Linked DNA regions of Homo sapiens: all the other regions are linked to region 2. The links are contacts of gene promoters, found by promoter capture Hi-C in blood cells and fetal thymus (Javierre and others, 2016). All regions are on one chromosome and are shown on one strand. Each heading gives the region's core, a stretch centred on a gene start or on the middle of the fragment in contact. The rest is flanking DNA. Distances are from core to core; before and after follow the strand shown. Region 1 overlaps PIN4 (peptidylprolyl cis/trans isomerase, NIMA-interacting 4). Region 2 holds the start of RTL5 (retrotransposon Gag like 5). Region 3 has its middle 12 kb from the start of PIN4.

What was found. The method cuts DNA at HindIII sites, captures the fragments that hold promoters and counts their contacts. A CHiCAGO score of 5 or more calls a contact.
Region 1: a contact is called between a fragment that was not itself captured here and the fragment with the promoter of RTL5 in region 2, in 1 of 17 cell types (neutrophils). The highest score is 5.5, in neutrophils.
Region 3: a contact is called between a fragment that was not itself captured here and the fragment with the promoter of RTL5 in region 2, in 1 of 17 cell types (neutrophils). The highest score is 5.9, in neutrophils.

Annotation. Positions count from the first base shown.
Region 1 is chrX:72,184,010-72,188,142 of GRCh38, reverse strand. It overlaps PIN4 (peptidylprolyl cis/trans isomerase, NIMA-interacting 4), which reads right to left. Exons shown (of 4, transcript NM_006223.4): 2 at 1,609-1,682. Among named protein-coding and RNA genes, the nearest start is that of PIN4, 4.3 kb to the right of the region's middle. The HindIII fragment of the contact is 1,102 bases long and covers 935-2,036 here.
Region 2 is chrX:72,130,655-72,134,062 of GRCh38, reverse strand. It overlaps RTL5 (retrotransposon Gag like 5), which reads left to right and starts at 2,148. Exons shown (of 1, transcript NM_001405151.1): 1 at 2,148-3,408. The coding sequence starts at 2,523. NHSL2 (NHS like 2) reads right to left here. Exons shown (of 8, transcript NM_001013627.3): 2 at 1,829-1,984. RefSeq lists silencers at 2,068-2,127, 2,288-2,357. The HindIII fragment of the contact is 11,603 bases long and covers 1-3,408 here.
Region 3 is chrX:72,167,406-72,171,922 of GRCh38, reverse strand. No RefSeq gene overlaps it. Among named protein-coding and RNA genes, the nearest start is that of PIN4, 12 kb to the left of the region's middle. The HindIII fragment of the contact is 8,980 bases long and covers 1-4,517 here.

The DNA.
Region 1 (4,133 bases), core at 236-2,735, 55 kb before region 2:
GGGCTATGTTTTATGAAAACTTATCTTTGGATACCAGAACCCCACTTCACATGATTGGATGCTCACACAAGAATTCAGGGCAACTATAGAAAAGCAGGTGCATGTCTCTCATCTCTCTCTCTCTCTGTGGGGCATAGGTTCATTGAATAGAAGAGTGGGCAGAACAGTCCACACCATTTACATGATCTCTCTTTTTTAGGCTACACATGTATGGCTGAATTTATATGATGCAGTTCCACTGCTATGCTTATCATACAGCAATGAAATACATATCTTTACCTAACTGCTCCCAAGTAGCCTGTGATAACAAGGACCATCTCTTACTTTTTATTTATTTTTTTGAGACAGGGTCTCGCTCTGTTGCATAGGATGAGTGTAGTGGCACAATCATGGCTCACTGTAGCCTCAAATTCTCGGGCTCAAGCGATCCTCCCACCTCAGCCTCCTGAGTAGCTAGGGCCACAGTTGTGCACCACCACGTCTGGCTGATTTTTTATTTTTACTTTTTTAGTGACAGGGTCTTGCTATATTGCCCAGGCTGGTCTCAAACTCCTGGGCTCAAGTGATCCTCGTGCCTTGGCCTCCCAAAGTGCTGGGATTACAGGAATGAACCATTGTGCCTGGCCCATCTCTTACTTTTTTATTAAATAAATACATGATAAAAAATCCCCAGAGCCTAATACATTGCTTGGCACAGGGCAGATGTCACTAAGTCCTTACTGAATGAATGAATCAAAGTACAGCCTCCCATATCCTGACTAAAACATGGAAATTGCCTTGTTACATAGCACTTACTAGTTTGCAGATTAAATTTTCTCCCAGCAGATACTCCTCTGGGGCTAGGTTAAGTATTTCAAGTAATTATTTGCTGATTTTCTCCTGCCCCCATTTTCATGGTCAAGACCCTGGTTTGTGGCTCACCAGTGGGGAAGCTTTCTAAAGAGACCTGCACCCTTGCCTGTTTATTCAGCAGAGGACTTTTAACACTTATCTAATCTCTTGGTTTTATAAAATATTATTTTGTCCTAAGAAATAACTCAATTACTGGGAAGATCTAACTTAATGCATTTTAAGGAACAATACTAAAAAACTATAAAGAAATTCTGGGTATCTGAGAAAGTACATGACAAAATATTTAAAGGGAATTACTTTTCATAAGCAAGACTGGTCTATATTTTCCATTTTTTTAAAATTTATTTTTATTTATTTATTTTTTTGAGATGGAATCTTACTCTGTTGCCCAGGCTGGAGTGCAGTGGTGCAATCTCAGCTCATTGCAACCTCAGCCTCCTGGTTCAAGCGATTCTTGATTCTCGTGCCTCAGCCTCCCAAGTAGCTAGGATTACAAGTGTACACCACCACACCAGGCAAATTTTTGTATTTTTAGTAGAGACAGGGTTTCACCATTTTGGCCAGGCTGATCTGCCTGCCTTGGCCTCCCAAAGTGCTGGGATTACAGGTGCGCCCAGCTACAATTTTGTGTTATTTTGATTTTATACCAGTGTTAGGCTAGCCTGTTAGAATGAGTTAAGCATTCTGTCTTTTATGTGTACTAACACATAAACAGAATTTATATTTAACATGGAAAAAAAGGAACCAGTAACTCACCTTTACTGCATTGCCACCACCTTTGGGACCTTGAGCCTTCTTGTCAGCACTGTCACTCCCAGAGGCTGCTCCCCCTTTAGAGAAGAGATGACAGGTACTCATTTAAACTGCACCTCCATGTTTACAGAAAGGTCCAACACACAACCGGAGTGGATATTTCCATCATAACGCCACACTTCAAAAGGGAACTCGGCCAGACACTTTACAACAAGGGTATCCAACCTTTCAGCTTCCCTGGGCCACAATGGAAGAATTATCTTGGGCCACACAAAATACGCTAACACTAATGATAGTTGACAAGCTAAAAAAAAAAAAAATCACAAATAAAAATCTCATAATGTTTTAAGAAAGTTTGCAAATTTGTGTTGGGCTGCATTCAAAGCCATCCTGGGCCGTATGCAGCCCGTGGGCCGTGGGTTGGACAAGCTTGCTTTACAACATCAAGCTAAATTAATCTGACCCATCTTTCTTCAAACAGGAAATCTGTGCCCTATATAAACCCTTCACAGAAAATGGATACACAAATGAGTGTGCTAATAGGTGAATGAAAGCTCCGGAAGCCTGGCCCAGATTCTTTGCATCCAATTTAACACCCTGCCTTCTGAGGGCAGACTCCTAAGTTCTTGTAAGAGTTCTATCATGTACCACAACTATGTGTTCAAGCATCACAATTCCAGTAAGTAAAATCTCTAAGAATACATTTTTTAAAAAGATCAAATTTCCCACTACCCATTTTTGGCTAAAGAATACATTCATGTCCAAATTTCTAGAGTCTACTACATTGCCTATTGATGTCTTCCTAGAACCATTAGCAGCATCTTACATTTTACTAGTATGTCATTTTACTACTATGGTAACTTCTGTGTCAATGGCAGCCTACATACTGCTAGAGGCTGATGTTCCTAAGAATTACAGTTGAATTAAGGGCTCAGTTCAATAAACATTTCCTATACAACTACTGAGTTCCAGGCACTGGGAGTACAAAGATGAACAAGCCATGTACCTTCCTTCAGAAAACTCATATTCTAGTGAGGAAGACGGATCATTTCAGGAGAATGCAGGAGATGCAGAGATGGTTATGGACAGGGGGCTGTGGAAGCACAGAGGGACACTGGAGCCAGCCAGGGAAGGTTTCCTGGATGAGTAGGAGCTGGTTAGCCAAAGAAAGGATGAGGAGACACTCCAGAATGGGGGAAACGACATGGTATGTGTAAGAAATTGTATGGATGAAGCCAAATCTGAGGTGGGAGTGCACTCAGATGAGCCTGCCTGAGGGAGGTAGCTGAGGGTCAGGGCATTGAGGCCTTTTGGCCCCATTAAGGAGCTTGGGACTTATCCTAGACGTAATAGGGAGCCATTGAAAAGTTGTTTTTTTTTTTTTTTTTTTGAGACGGAGTCTCGCTCTGTCTGTCGCCCAGGCTGGAGTGCAGTGGCGCGATTTCGGCTCACTGCAAGCTCCGCCTCCCGGGTTCATGCCATTCTCCTGCCTCAGCCTCCCGAGTAGCTGGGACTACAGGCGCCTGCCACCACGCCCCGCTAATTTTTTTTGTATTTTTAGTAGAGACAGGGTTTCACCCTGTTAGCCAGGATGGTCTCGATCTCCTGACCTCGTGATCTGCGAGCCTCGGCCTCCCAAAGTGCTGGGATTACAGGCGTGAGCCACCGCGCCTGGCCGCCATTGAAAAGTTTTAAGCAAGAGTCTCCATCTTGCTTGTCTTAGTATCTCCAAGCCTAGCACAATGCCTGGCACACAAAAGGTGTTTTAATAAATGTTTGATTAAACTGAAAACCCCAAATACTGACTACCAAAACCCTAAAAAAATGTTACTGCCAAAGGAGTGTTATTAAATCAAACTCCTAACTGGGTTTGCTATAGATCCATTCTTGAATGATGATGCCTTCCAGTTATCCCATCCTCTTCCCTGCTGGATGCTGTCATCTTCTGACTGCCACCTCACTGCCTTTGATTTCCTGACGACTCTGGCATCAGCTTTGGGCTTCCTCTCCACCCTCACTCCTGCCATTACCTTGAGTGACCTCACCATCTATCTTGGGGAATCTCAGTTCTAGGTCTCTTTCCCGAATGTCATGCTCTCTACTCCAAGCTACCTGCCCCGGGGGCACACGATGGAACTGTGCCACTCAGAACTAGTTCAGTCTCTGGCTATAACCTCCTGTTCTTCCAGCTTCCTCATGTCTCATTCCCACAATACTTGCTCTTTAACTTCACAGAACCTCTCCCTTGACCCCAGTCCCTTCGTCCTGCTACATTCACCTAGGCCACCAGACTTCTTTTTCCCTTCCCACTCTGGACCCCATGTTCCTTCATCTGAACTGCATTCCCACTGGCCCTTGTAATTCCCTGGTGTTGCTATCCTCCTATCATAACTGCCTAACAAAACCTCAACCATGGCTTAAGGCTGCACCTAGCTCTTTTCAATCCTATATTGTGCCAATTGCATAGTACTAGGTAAATCAGACTGTGAAGATTATGTAGTCTACAAATTCATGGCCTTTGATCTTAG
Region 2 (3,408 bases), core at 899-3,398:
CTCTAGGGTGCCATGGCCGAGCGCTGGGCCGGGGAAGGGCCATGAGCCAGGACTCCTGCTCTAGCTGCCAGGCCTGACTTGCATTTTCTTTAGGCTATTTCCAGGTGTTTGAGCCACTGGATTTGGAAATGGAAAAGTGCTTGCTTCCCAGGACCATGAGGATCGAGGAGAAGAGAAAGTCAATAAATTCATGCTGTGGTGGTTTGGGGACCAAGCCCTTATCTCAATGATCCCCACCTTGAGTGCTCAGTTACGAAAAGAGGCTCAGAATGCAGACACCTTTTGCTACTTTGGACTGCAAGTTCCTCTCTTTGAAGCCCTGCAGCTCTTAAGGTTTTCTGCGACCCTACCAAGGAAATGACCTGTGTGAAGCAAGAAGAGATTTACACCAGGAAGTCCAATCTGGAGTTCTTTCTTGGATGTCAAGAACTTTTACTTGAGCCTTTGTGGGCCGTGTTCCCTGCACCTTAGTCCCGCTGTAAGTGATGTCAGGTCTAGGAGGGCTAAGGTGAAGGAGAGGGAAGGAGGAGGTAACAGCATAAAAGAGGCAGAAGTTCAGCGGCATCATCAGTGAGTAAGGATGCACAAGATTTGAATAGGGTTGATTGAAGTGATGAATTTGATGAGAATACATGAAGAAAGTGAGAGTAGAGAAGGGACATTCATGCTGTATGTACACTGAACAAAGACTCAGAATCACAGAGATTTGGGGTTGCTCTTGGGGTTCTTTGGTCCAACGCCTCATTCTGTGCCCAGACTCCCTCCTCAGCAGCCCTTCTAGGTGTTTCTTCAGCCTCAGCGCACACACCTGCAGGGAAGGGGAGCTCCCTCCCTCCCAAGGCAGCTCATTTCTTCCACGGACAGTTGGGGCTGTCAGGTGTGTCAGAAAGTTCTTCCTTATCTGGAGGTGGAATGTGCCTCCTTCTGGGTTTCCACCCACTGGTCCTAATTCTGCCATGGTAGCAACACAGAGCACATCGACTCTTTTTCTGTGTGGCAAGTCCTTTGTTATCTGAACACAAGGCTCATGGTGTCCCTTGGCATCTTGCTTTTCCAAGGTCACCACTGCCCTGGTAGGGGGTGGGGGTTATGGCTGTCATCCTGTTGGTGGCCCATCAGCAGTTTTCTATTCGCCATTAGAGTTAACCTTTATTAGTATAGATAAAGGAGTGCTGACAAGACCTCTTTTCATGCTCAACATCCACTGAGCACCTCTTGGCAGGTGGGGAGGGAATCCAGCCTTGTGCCAGGTGCTTCTGGAAACCTAAGGGTAGCAAGATGTGATTCTTTACATCGAGAAGCTCAGGCTTGGTTAGGGGGGACAAAATAGGTGACCTCTGGGTGCTGTGTATTGGGCTTACTTTGGTGAGGCAGTAGCTATCCAGGGGTTATTGCAAGAGCAGAGTGAGTGAAGCCCAGAGTGGGAGATCCTGCAGATGCCCCCTTTGTCTTCTGGTGCCAGGATCCCAAAGGCATGGGCGATGTGGCAAGAGGGGGGCTGGAGGGAATGTAGGCCCACATTGTGGGAGTCTCCCACCCAGCTCTCGGTGAATGGCATAACTTATGGCCCTGCCTCAGTCTCTGTCCTTGTTTCCCCATGGGCTACTGAGCTGAAAAAAGGGGCTGGGGATGGGGGGAAACAGCCCTGGAAATAGCCTCTTTCAGAATCATTAGGCTGAAAGGTGAAAGCTGGAAACTGCTTTGTCGATTGTTTTTAAACTCTCTGTCTTTATCTTGCTGGTCCCTGTCCTCTTTCTTCTTTGCCTCCCTCCTGCCGCTGCGCATCTCGCTTCTGGGCTCCGGCCGCAGCCCCCCTCCCTCTCGGTACCTTGCAACAGGCTCTGGAGATTGAGCTGCGCCTCCCGAAGCAGCTCCTCTACACTCGGGGGCCTGCCCGAGGAGAGGAACACGTTCACTGGCTGTCGCCATGACGACCTCGAGTGGGCAGTCGCTGTCGCATTTTCCCGACCCGAGTTAGCTGCAGCTAGGGAAGGAGAGAGTCAGTGAGAGGCGCAGGCGAGCTGGAGGGGAGCGGCGCGCGGCGGCCAGTGGGCGCCCGCGGTTCCCCAAGGCCCGCCCCTGCGTGGGGTGGGGGGAGTGCGAGGCTGCGCTTAAAAGGCGGGGAATCGCCGGCCGCAAGATTTTTCCTCGACAGATCCTGCCGCAGTCCGCTCCCTCCCGCTCCGCTCGCCCCTGCCCGCCCGCCCGCCCGGTCGCGCGGTCGCCGCCGCCACCGTGTCGCCCGCATCCTCCGCCTGGCGCCTCCGGGCCCCGTGCCTCCGCCCGCCCTCTCCGGCCCCGGCGACGAGGTAACGCGCCCTGGGCCGAGCCGCCGGGCCCTCCGCCCAGAGCGCCGCCCTCCGAGCTCGCCCCGGTGGGTGTGGCCCGGCCTGGCCCGTGCCCCGCTGCCGCACTTCGGTCCCTCCCGAGCCCCGCCGCCGCATTTCGGCCTCCTCCGGCCGCCCGTAGTTCCAGTTCCCCTTTCCCCACCACGGAGCCCCAGGGCCCCTGGGCTTGTCGAGATGTCTGAGGCGTCAGGAAATCTCAACAGCCTCCGCATGGCGAATGTGGCCCTGCGCGAAGAATTAAATGCCCTTCGCGGGGAGAATGCCAATTTGGGCCTCCAGCTCGGGAGAGCCCTGGCCGAGGTTAATTCCTTGCGGGGCAATGTCTCCAGCTACATCCGCTGGCCAGTACCCATAGTGCCCGTCCTTGCGGAGGAGAACTTGGAGTTCGCGCTCAGTGAGATCGAAGTCATTCCCGGGGGAGAACTGCCCTTCTTGTGCCGGCCTCCCCCACGCGCGGAGCCCGACTGTATCTCGGATGATCTTTTGATTAACGTGATCCAGGATCGCAGCACCCCCGACGGGCCCGCTGACCCCCCTCTGCTGCCCATCCCGCCCCCGCCGGCGCTGCCTCCGCCCGCGTCAAAGGAACCGCCCCCGCAACCCCCTCTGGCACCGCTGGAGCGGCCTGAGATAGAGCCCTTTTCAGGAGACCCAGTCTACCTGGCTGAATTCCTGATGCAGCTAGAGACCTTCATAGCCGACCATGAGGTTCATTTCCCCGGGGGCGCCGAGCGGGTGGCCTTTCTGATCTCCTTTTTCACTGGCGAAGCCAAGGACTGGGCCATCTCGGTCACCCAGGAAGGAAGCCCCTTGCATGCCAACTTCCCGCGCTTCCTGGATGAAATCCGTAAGGAATTCTGTGGCCCCATCCCCCCACGTGTGGCTAAAAAGGCCATTCGCAAGCTCAAGCAGGGCCACTGTACCCTCGGCAGCTATGCAGATGCTTTTCAGTTCCTGGCCCAATTCTTGTCTTGGGATGACTGCCGCCTCCAAAACCAATTCCTCAAAGGCCTGTCGGAATTCTTCCGCAAAGAGCTCTTATGGTCAACAGAAATGGCCG
Region 3 (4,517 bases), core at 745-3,244, 38 kb before region 2:
CAACCTCTGTCTCCTGGGCTCAAGCTATCCTCCCACCTCAGCCTCCTGAGTAACTGGGGCTACAGGTGCATGCCACTATGCCAGGATATATATATATATATGCCAGGGTATATATATATATATATATATATATATATATATATATGCCAGGATATATATATATATATATATATATATATATATATGCCAGGATATATATATATATATATATATGCCAGGATATATATATATATATATATATATATATGCCAGGATATATGTATATATGCCAGGATATATATATATATATATATATATATATATATATATATGCCAGGATATATGTATATATGCCAGGATATATATATATATATATATATGCCAGGATATATGTATATATGCCAGGATATATATATATATATATATATATATATATATATATATATATGCCAGGATATATATGTATGTATATGCCAGGATATATATATATATATGCCAGGATATATATATATATATATATACGCCAGGATATATATATATATTTTTTTTTTTTTTGCATTTTTGGTAGAGATGGTATTTCACCACGTTGCCTAGGCTGGTTTCAAACTCTTGAGCTCAAGTGATCCACCTGCCTTGGCTTCCCAAAGTGCTGAAATTACAGGCATGAGCCACTGCCACCCAGCCCCAGCTTTCTTTTGATTCATGTTAGCATGGTAAATATTTTTCTATCTTTTTACTTTTAACCTGTTTGTGTCATTATACCAAAGTGAGGGCTTTTTTTTTCAGGGAGCATATAGTTGAGTCCTGTGCTTTTCCTTTTAAAAAAAATTTTTTTTTATTTTTTATTTTTTAACTTTTTTTTTTTTAAGAAACAGAGTCTCACTCTGTCACCCAGGCTGGATGCAGTGGTGTGATCACAGCTCACTACAGCCTTGAACTCCTGGGATCAGGTGATCCTCTGGCCTCAGCGTCTCAAGTATCTAGGACTACAGGCATGCGCCACTACACCTGGCTAATTTTTTAAACATTTTTTGTAGAGATGGGGTCTTGCTGTGTTGCCCAGGCTGATCTCGAACTCCTGGGCTCAAATGATCCTCCCACCTTGGCCTCCCAAAGTGCTGGGATTATAGGCATAAGCCACTGTGCCCTGCCCTCTGTGCTTTTTCTACTTAATATGACAGTCTTTCCCTTTGGAATGGGAGTGTTTAGATGCTTTGCATTTAATGTGATTATTGATATGGTTAGATTTCTATATGGTTTCTCTTTGTTCCATCTGTTCTTTGTTCCATTTTCCTCTTTCTTTGCCCTCTTTCAGATTGAGTTTCTTTCTTCCTTCTTCTTCTTTTTTTTTTTTTAATATAAAGAGATGGGATCTTGCTCTATCACCCAGGTTGGAATGCAGTTGTGAAATCATAGCTCACTGCAGCCTCAAACTCCTGGGCTCAAGGGATCCTCCCACCTCACCCTCCTGAGTAGCTGGGACTACAGGCACATACCACCACCCCCTGCTAATTTTTAAATGTTTTGTAGAGATGAGGTCTTTCTATGTTGCCCAGGCTGGTCTCAAACTCCTGGCCTCAAGCAATCATCACGACTTGGCCTCCCTAAGTGCTGGGATTACAAGTGTAAGCCACCATGCCTGGCCAAGTATTTTTATGACTCATTTTTATCTCCATTGTTGGCTATTATCTATAACTTTTTGTTCTATTATTTTAGAGGTTGCTTTAGGGTTTATATTATAAATCTTTAACTTGGCTAGGCGCAGTGGCTCATGCCTGTAATCTCAGCCCTTTTGGAGGCTGAGGCAGGCAGATCACTTGAGGTCAGGAGTTCAAGACCAGCCTGGCCAACATGGTGAAACCCTGTCTCTACTAAAAATACAAAAAATTAGCCGGGCGTGGTGATGCGTGCCTGTAATCCCAGCTACTCAGGAGGCTGAGGTGGGAGAATTGCTGGAACCCAGGAGGCGGAGGTTGCAGTGAGCTAAGATCACACCATTGCACTCCAGCCTGGGAGACAGAGCGAGACTCCATCTCAAAAATCAATCAATCAATCAATTAATTAATTAATGTTTAACTTTTCATATTATACATTCAAATGATATACCACTTCACCTACAGCATAGGAACCTTACAAAGGTATACTTCCATTTCCCTCCTCTGACCTTTGTGTTATTGTTGTTATATATTTTACTTATCTACGTCATAAACCTCACAATATATTGTAATTATTTTTGCTTTAAATAGTCAATTATCTTTTTCATTTTAAACATTCTTATTTTAAAAGAATTATAGATTAACAGGAAGTTATAAAATACTACAGAGAGGTTCTGGGTATCTTTCACCCAGTTCCCCCAAATGGTTACATTTCATGTAACTATAGTACAATATCAAAACCAGGAAATTGGCACTGACATAATATGTGTGTATGGTTTTATGTCATTTGATGCCCCGTGTAGGTCCATGGAACTACCATCAAGATACAAAACTGAGGCAGGAGAAAAGGGTCTGGAGGCAGGGAATCTAAGACCAATTCACGCTGACTTCCTAGAACTAAATCAAAAGGAAAACCCCAACTTTCTACACCTAAGTAACAAAAGGACCAGAAGCTACTTCCTTTGCAACGTGCCCCTTTTCTGCGCGGCAGATGGAAAATTGAAAGTATCTCTAATTGGTTGCTTTCTGCAACCAATCAGATGTTTGCATAGGAGTGTGACTTTGTAACTTCACTTCAGCCTCTGATTGTTGCTTTCTGCAACCAATCAGACTGATTGTGGGCCAAGTCTTCTTTTGTATAGGAGTGCAACTTTGTAATTTCACTTTAGCCTCTGATTGCGTACTTACTTCATTTGCATGGAGTGAACACCAAGTGGCCAATGGGAAACCTCTAGGGGGTACTTGGACCCCAGAAGATTCTGTAACTGGGCTCTTGAGCCCCTGTGCTCGGGGCCTGCTCCCACACTGTGGAGTGTACTTTCATTTTCAATAAATTTCTGCTTTTGTTGCTTTATTCTTTTCTTGCTTTGTGTGTTTTGTCCAATTCTTTGTTCAAAATGCCAAGAACCTGGACACCCTCCACCAGTAACACAACTATCCCATCATCTTCATCTCTAAACCCTAGAAATAACTAATCTGTTCTCCATCTTTATAATTTTGTCACTTTAAGAATGTTACATAAATGGAATTATGCAGTATGTTACCTTTTGAGATTGCCCTTTTTCACTCACCATGGTTCCTTTGAGATCTGTCCAAGTTGTTTCACATATTAATATTTCATTCTGTAGTATTCCGTGGTTTGGATGTACCACGCTTTGTTTAGCCACTCACCTATTAAGGGACAGTTTGGTTATTTCCAGTTTTTGGCTATTGCAAATTAGAGTGCTGTGAACACTCATGTATAGGTTTTTGTGTGGACATAAACTTTTATTTTATGTACTTATTTTATTTTGAGATGGAGTCTCACTCCGTCGCGCAAGCTAGAGTGCAGTGGTGCAATCTCGGCTCACTGCATCCTCCACCTCCTGGGTTCAAGCGATTCTCCTACCTCAGCCTCCCGAGTAGCTGGGATTACAGGAGCACACCATCACGCCTGGCTAATTTTTGTATTTTTAGTAGAGATGGGGTCTCACCATGTTGGCCAAGCTGGTCTCGAACTCCTGAGCTCAAATGATCCACCAGCCTTGGCCTCCTAAAGGGCTGGGCTTACAGGCATGAGCCACCGCACCCAGCCCATAAACTTTTTTTACTGGACTAATTAACCAAGAGCGCAATTGCTGGGTCAATCGGTAAGTATATGTTTGGTTTTTAAAGAAAATGCTAAATTATTTTCCAGAGTGGCTGTACCATTTTGCATTTCCACCAGAATTATGTGAGTGAACTATTTCTCTGCATTTTTACCAGCATTTGGTATTGTCACTATTTTTTTTTTTTTTTTTTGAGACAGAGTCTCACTCTGTCGCCCAGGCTGGAGTGCAGTGGCATGATCTTGACTCACTGCAACCTCCACCTCCTGGGTTCAAGCAATTCTCCTGCCTCAGCCTCCCGAGTAGCTGGGACTACAGGTACATGCCACCATGCCCAGCTAATTTTTGTATTTTTAGTAGAGACGGGGCTTCACCATGTCTCGATGGCCAGGTGGCCAGGATGGTCTTGATCTCCTAACCTCATGATCTGCCCCCCTCGGCCTCCCAAAGTGCTGGGATTACAGGCATGAGCCACCACACCCAACTGGTATTGCCACTATTTTTAATTTTTGTTGTTCTAATAGGTGTGTAGTAGTATCTCATTGCGTTCTTAATTTGCATTTTCTAATGGCTAGTGATGTTGAACATATTTTCATGTGTTTATTTTCCATCTGTAGATAACTTTGGTGAACTGTCCCTTCATGTTCTTTGCCCATTTTCAAATTGCATTTTAATAATCATTGTCTTGGGTGGGCATAGTGGCTCACGTCTTTAATGCCAGCACTTTGGGAGGCTGAGGCAGGTGGATCACTTGAGGTCAGGAGTTCGAGACCAGCCTGGGCAACATAGTGGAACC